Regions from separate parts of the Homo sapiens genome. Here region 1 is linked to region 2. The links are contacts of gene promoters, found by promoter capture Hi-C in blood cells and fetal thymus (Javierre and others, 2016). All regions are on one chromosome and are shown on one strand. The core of a region is centred on a gene start or on the middle of the fragment in contact, and the rest is flanking DNA. Distances in the headings are between cores, read along the strand shown.

Evidence for each region. Contacts are between HindIII fragments. The CHiCAGO score rates a contact against its expected background, and 5 or more counts as called.
Region 1: a contact is called between a fragment that was not itself captured here and the fragment with the promoter of LTN1 in region 2, in 1 of 17 cell types (M0 macrophages). The highest score is 5.1, in M0 macrophages.

Annotation. Positions count from the first base shown.
Region 1 is chr21:29,638,991-29,642,530 of GRCh38, reverse strand. All of the region lies in intron 7 of GRIK1 (glutamate ionotropic receptor kainate type subunit 1), which reads left to right. Among named protein-coding and RNA genes, the nearest start is that of GRIK1-AS3, 17 kb to the left of the region's middle. RefSeq lists an enhancer at 2,620-2,699. The HindIII fragment of the contact is 735 bases long and covers 1,826-2,560 here.
Region 2 is chr21:28,991,223-28,994,716 of GRCh38, reverse strand. LTN1 (listerin E3 ubiquitin protein ligase 1) reads left to right here and starts at 1,840. Exons shown (of 30, transcript NM_015565.3): 1 at 1,840-1,953. The coding sequence starts at 1,912. It overlaps LOC105372766 (a long non-coding RNA gene), which reads right to left and starts at 1,614. Exons shown (of 3, transcript XR_007067835.1): 1 at 1,586-1,614; 2 at 1,036-1,147; 3 at 536-935. RefSeq lists enhancers at 1,556-1,615, 1,926-2,035. The HindIII fragment of the contact is 7,723 bases long and covers 686-3,494 here.

The DNA of each region.
Region 1 (3,540 bases), core at 944-3,443, 650 kb before region 2:
ATGGGTGTTTCTTCCATGTCCCACTGAGTCAAGGGGAGAGTTGATCCATTACTGAAGGGTACCAGAGATAGTTCCAGCATTATCAGTCCACAATCCCAGTGGCCTCCTAAAGCTCAGGCTGTACAGGACTGAGTGGAAGGACCTCTTTAATTATATAGTGACTATTTTGTCATTTATCAGCTAACTGGAAAAGTTTATTCCCATTCAAAACCTACTGAGCACATAAAAGATTTTTGAGAGTATGGGGTATTTGCAGGGATAGATATCTTCACTGATGTCCTGGGATCCTGGACTGTCCTCCACCTTTTCTTTTCTCTGAGGCAGTTTGACTCCTTGTCACAAGGCCCTGTTCTAAGCCCCGTGACTCCTTATCGATATGTACACTGCATGATCATCCATTCCACCACGAACCTCAGGGTGTGTCTGGACTTGATGATAAGAAATAAGGCTCTTTGGAGTAGCTAGGCCTGAGTATGCGCAATGCTCTGAGATGCTATTCTAATATTTCTCTATGGGATACAGACATTTAGTTCTCAAGTGAAGAGTATTTTTTTCCTTTCTGTACTGGAGAAGGATGGAAATATAGTGTAAAGAAGAGGGAGGGCACAGGAGAATACCCAGCTAAGAGTAAGGAAAGACACCTGCTTTGGACTCGTGTCTCTGCTGGTCTCTTCCATGCCTGCACACCCTCTCTCAGTCTGTTCAATGCAACTAAAGGCTGACTCTGATCCATGAGGGTGAGGATAAAGCAGGCGGGATGTATAAGGATTAAGTACCTAGGCTACAAATCTAGGTTGCTTGCAAGCCCAGGATGAGGGTGCAATTTAAGGAAACATTCATTCTTGGGTGAGTATTCTATACTTGCACAAGATTAAGAGGAAATTCTCGCTTAAATTTTGTACCCTGAGCACCTCTCTTACTTTATCCTAGTCCTGGCAGTGACTGCATGGGTTTAAATCTTAGTTCCACTAACACTGATGAGCAATATAACCTGGGCAAGTCTATTGGTCCATTTTCATGCTGCTGATAAAGACATACCTGAGACTGGGTAATTTATAAAGAAAAAGAGGTTTAATGGACTCACAGTTCCACGTGGCTGAGGAGGCCTCACAATCATGGCGGAAAGTGAAAGGCATGTCTACATGGTGGCAGGCAAGAGAAAACTTGTGCAGGGAAAATCCCATTTATAAAACCATCAGATTTCATGAGACTTATTCGCTATCACGAGAACAGCATGGGAAGACTTGCCTCCATGATTCAATTACCTGCTACTGGGTCCCTCCCACAACACATGGGAATTGTGGGAGCTACAATTCGAGATGAGATTTGGGTGGGGACACACCAAAACCATATCAGCAAGTTACTTACACTTCTTGTCTCTCAGTTTTCTTATCTATAAGATGGGTATAGTATCATCTACCCCACAGCATGACTGTAAGGATAAAGAATTAGGCAAATGCTTGTGAAGAATAGTTCAGAAACCTAGTAAGCATCTGAAATACTATTCTCTTGCCATTGGAAGGCACCACTAAGAATAGCCTCATTCAGTTTACTGAAGATGATACCAGGAATTTCAAACTGGCAACAACAACAACAACAACAAAGACATCACAAATAGGCATGAAACAAAATACCTTTTCTGACAGCTACATAACTCTGACACACTGTGCCTAATAGAAAAACATCACACCACCTCCTTTTCCCTGCAGTGATCATGGTTGTGTCCTGAATCGCCATCCTGATTACCTTGATCTTTAACAAGAAAACAGCTGGTTTTCTTTTATCTCCTAGAAGTTCAAGGAGAGGCAGAAGTGACATGAAAGCTTGGGATCAAACACTCAAGAGCCCCCAAGACACCTTATCACTTGTACTTAAGTCGCATAAGAAGGTGAAATTACCAAGCCACATTTAGGCATATTTAAAGAAATAATGAGCTCCAAGATGAGGGACCACACTGAAAATAAGAAGGCATTTTATATTCATTCACTCCAAAGAAGCAAATCTCTCATTTTTAATCTCCACAGTTAGGGGTTACAGGAAGGGAGGGGGGAATGAATCAGAAACCATTGTCAACATTGTGCTCATCCTCTTTTGTCTCCTGAGTCAGGATGTCATATGCTACCTTTGGCAGGGTGTAGGTACCTACAGAGAAGATGGAATGGGGTAACCAGAAGCAATGCCTCAGCCTGCTGGAGGACTGGCACTGAGGAAATTCTGAGACAACCTAAAACATGCAAAAGAGAAAGTGCACGTGTTTTTTCAGATGAGTGCATAACTGAACAAAATTTTGCAAGTATCAGGTTTCATTAGGAAACATGAAATAAGGAACTTGGTCCCCAAATTTCCCCCGCTGCTTCTTTTTTTTTTTTAAGTTATTCTCACTTTGTAAAGAAGTTCCAAAACTAGAGTCAGAAAAAAAAAAATGAAAAGAAGCAAGTCAGCAGATTGAATTTATGGGGTGAAGACCAAATTCATCACAGGAGGTAAACTTCCTGAGCAGAGGTTGTTGCATGTGCGGTAATTTCTGATAACTCCACACACTGTTGGGAATCAGTAAGCTTTTCAGACACATGTTTCCAGCTCACTGCCTTTCAGTGTATGGGGCTGACTAGATAAAGGGGAAGAGTTAAAGAACATATGAAACATGATAGAGTATGTTACTATGTTAGCTCTCCGAGCATTTGCTAAACAAATGCATGCTAGGAGATTATACATTCCCACTCAACAAGCATTACTGGAACTCCACTACATAAGTAATATTAACTTGGCATCTTAAGGGATAACACCCTTGAAAAGTAGAAGAGGTGGCTTCTGCCACCTAGTAATGTAAATTCTACATGGCAGAGGATTGACACGCTTCATTAAAGCTTTTTCTTATACCTCAGGATAAAACATACACTCTTCAGCAGGATATACAGGCTCATGATCTTGTTCCTGATCCCTTTGCCAGCTCTCTCATCTCCTGCTCCATCTGCAGCACCTGCTGAACCTACTGTGGCTCCCTTGAATATGCAATATGCTCCTACCAAATTATTTTAACTCTGATTGCAATGCCGTGCTCCTCTGGGTCATGCTTTACGTCTCAACTCAAGCACTAGCTCCTATCTGCAGGACCCTGACTCACAGATGTAGGCTTTGTACCTCCATTACAACTGTGGGTATGCTATTGTGTTTGTTTCCACGTCTATCTCCAAGCTATGCGTTTTCAGTCTCAATTCCCTAGTTCTTGCACAATGCTGGACATAGAATAAGCACCCAATAAATACATGCCAAACAAGTGAATGAATTGATGAATGAATTAATGAATGAATTAGCAAAGGAACCGAAGAACACACACAATCTATAAGCATGTGCAGTGCTTCAGGACACACTGTGTTCATAAAAATCATATCCAGAAACAATTCAATAAGACAGAGTCAGGAGCTGGACTAGACCTGTCCACCAGGGCCATAGGTTTCGATAGGAGAGTGAGGCAGGGATTTAGGGAAAGACCAACCTATTTAACTCTGGTGCTGGGAACACAGATTCTGAGATTTCATC
Region 2 (3,494 bases), core at 591-3,090:
TTTTATTTAAGAATGTGTCTTAGAATTCTTCCTATGTGTGTTCAGATAAACCTTATTCTTCTTAAATGTTGCCTAATAGCTTATTGAATACATATAATTTATTTAGCAGTTCTCCAATATATAGACATAGGTTGCTTACAATTATCTTTCTATTATAAAGTTTTTGTGAACCTCCTGTAATATGTCTCTTTGTGTGACTTTTTTCTGAGACAGTCTGCTCTGTCACCCAGGCTGGAGTGCAGTGGCATGATCTTGGCTTACTGCAACCTTCGCCTCCCGGGTTCAAGAGATTCTCGTGCCTCAGCCTTCCAAGTAGCTGGGATTGCAGGCACCTGCCACCACTGCCCAGCTAATTTTCGTATTTTTAGTAGCGATGGGTTTTTGCCATGTTGGCCAGGCTGGTCTCGAACTCCTGACTTCAGGTGATCCACCTGCCTCGGCCTCCCACAGTGGTGGGATTACAGGCATAAGCCACTGCACCTGGCTTTTGTGTGCATTTTAAAATCAGGGTCCAGTCAGGAAAACAGAAATCACATTAGTTATTGAGAAATATTTTAATATGGGAAATTGGTCAAAAGGAATTATAAAAGGTAACAGGTAATCACTGCAGGTAGCAGCTACCATTCCTAGAGCTAGGAAAGGATGGAACAAAAGAAGTGGTTGGAGTCATCAGAACCTAAAAGCTTGAAGGAGGGCCCTGAACACCTTAGTTCAGGCCTATGAAGAATGAAGAGAGGGTGATGGCTGGCTGTTACTGGATCTCTGGAGCACAAAGAAGGGATCCCACGGTGTTGAGGCTCAAACTTCTGAGGAGGTGGCTCAAACATTGGCTATCTCAGGAGCTCAGGGGAGGGGCCGCATGAAAGTAGAATTCAGATCTCTGAGGAGAGCACTGACTGCTGCTGTGATCTCTGAGGGGTGCAATAAGGCTGATTCTGTGATTGTTGGAAAAAGGATAGAGATTAAAACCACCTTTTGGCTAAAGCAATTGCTCCTGCCACGGTAAAATGCAGCTGCTGCTGGCATGATGCTTACAGAATGGAGCAAGTCCCTTCTTCCTCTTGCCTTTGTTTCCCTCTTGTTCGTCCTGTTGGTGGAATCTAGCAGAAGCCCCCCCAGTAACATGGAGTTGAGTATAAAAGGGTGACTGCGTGGACAAGAAACAATAACCAGCACACATTTACTTGTTTCTCTGGTGTGATTCTGAGTCGCACAATCAATGGGTTACAGGATTTGTACATTTCAAATTTTAATAGGGACTCCCACATTATCCTCTTTCCTAAACTGCACGTTAACAGTTTCAATATGAATAAAAGGGGACGGGGAGGGGAGATTTAGAGAGAATAGTGCCTACAGCAGTAATCAAATTTTAACAAGACTTGGGAATACTGTCAAAATGCAGGATCTGATTCAGGAGTTCTGAGGGGCCCGAGTTGGCCTTTTCTAAAAAACGCCCAGGTGATACTGATGATTGCATCATGTTGGAAGTCTAAAACACTCCCATCTTCCCACAGCCTCTACCATAACATTCTAATGCTACCCTTATGTGAAACTGCCCCTCTGATGATTCACGCCAGTTTCCTACCCTCTAAGCAAGGAACAAACCTAGCTTCTGAAAGCGGGGAGGACAGGATTTGGCGCCACGGGTCCAATGCTTGGCTTCCTATTGGCCAGGAATGACATCACTCAGACAGGCGTGGCTTTAGCTGTGACGTCTCCGGTGGCGGATGGTCAGGGACACAGCGGGAGGCGGGAGCGGAAGTGGGGCAGCAAATGGACAGGGTGGGTGGCGGAAAAGGGCCCGGGGGAAGTTATTACAGGGTGTCCTCTTCCGCCGCCAGAAGCCGGAAGTTGTGTCCCGGACGTGTCAACCGGGGTCTGAGTGCTCAGAGTACAGCTGCAACCGCGACCATGGGCGGGAAGAACAAGCAGCGAACTAAAGGGAACCTGAGGGTGAGCGGGGGCTGGCTCGGCCGACCCGGGAGCCTCGCTTCGAGGCGGCTGGCTCCGCCCAGCGCGTTGCTGGAGGGTGTGTGGAGCGCGGCTGTAGGGAGGCGTGTGTTTCCCTGTCGAGTGTGACCTCTCTGTTGTGTGTGCGTCCCTGAGAGCGGTTTGTGTTATCTCTGAGCAGATTGGGGAATCGTGAGAGAAAAGATGTACCATGCCAGAGCTGTCCTCATCCGAGCACACACCCATAATATTCATGAAGAAATGATAATGTGTCAGGTTCACTGGAAGGTGATCTGGCCGAGGTAGCGGGTTGGTTGGGGGAGGGCGGCGCTGGGAAGAAGGAGAGTTGGGAGAATGTTAAAGTGAATCCACTGTGGAGGTTACCGCAGATTGTGCCTCTCCTTTGCTACCTACAGTGGCTTCTCCTAAGCTAAAGCTCTTAGGATGGTATATTTGGTTTCTGGACTGCCTGTTACCCCTTTCCATCTGCAGTCCCATCTTCAGCTCCCTCCTCTTGGCTTACTTCATCCAGCCACACTGATCTCTTCACTGTGCCTTGACTACCTGGCCGGCTCCCAACGCTCTTCAGTTAGGTGGCTCCAAACTTTGCTCTCGACACCTCAGTGAGGTCTCCCATGATCACCCTCTTGGTAGCCCTTCCCCACTCCCATGTTCTTCCTACTTTATTTTACTCCATTGTATTTATGACATTTATTGTCTTGGTTCACTAGGACGTAAGTATTTTGAAAGCAAATGTTTTTATCCTCGGAACCTAGAACAGACTGGCACCTAATAGACGCTCACTAAGTACTTGCTTAAGGACGACCTTAAAGTGGATTCGTGTAAAACTACACGATGAGGGGTTTTGTAATGGTATTTTTTTATGGTGTTAGATTTATTATAGCACAGTCCAATTTTATGAGAATGCTTTTTTTTCCTGTTTCTGATGTAGTTAATTCTAGTGATTTCAATGTCACATTTTCTTAGATCTGTCACTTAATCTGTTTTGGAAGATAATAACAGTATTAACAATTATAGCAACCTGTTGTGTTACTGTGCTAAGCACTTTACTTGCATCTTTTAATGTTTTTTATTTAACAGATTTTCTCAAATGTTTTATATTTGAAAAGTTCTTATGAGGAAAAGTTGCAAGAATATTAGAACGACATCCCATATACTCTTTACCTACATTTACCAATTGCTAATACTTGGTTGCATTTGCTTTCTCTCTCTTAATTTATGTATTTTTCTGAACTTATAAGAGTTAGTTGCAGAAGTCGGGACTCTTAACTCCTAAATACATCAGCATGTATCTTCTAAAAACAATGCCATTTTCTAGCCTGCAGCAATTATAATAATGGTTATAGTATGCAGAAACTTTGACTTTTGTATAATACTGTAATCCAGGATACAGCCTTGTATTTAGACTTCTGTAGTTATCCCAATAATGTTCTCTTTTTTCTTTTTTTTTTTTTTGTAAGACAGGGTCGCTCTGTCTCCAAACCTGGAGTGTGGTGGTATGATCATGGCCCACTGCAGTGTCA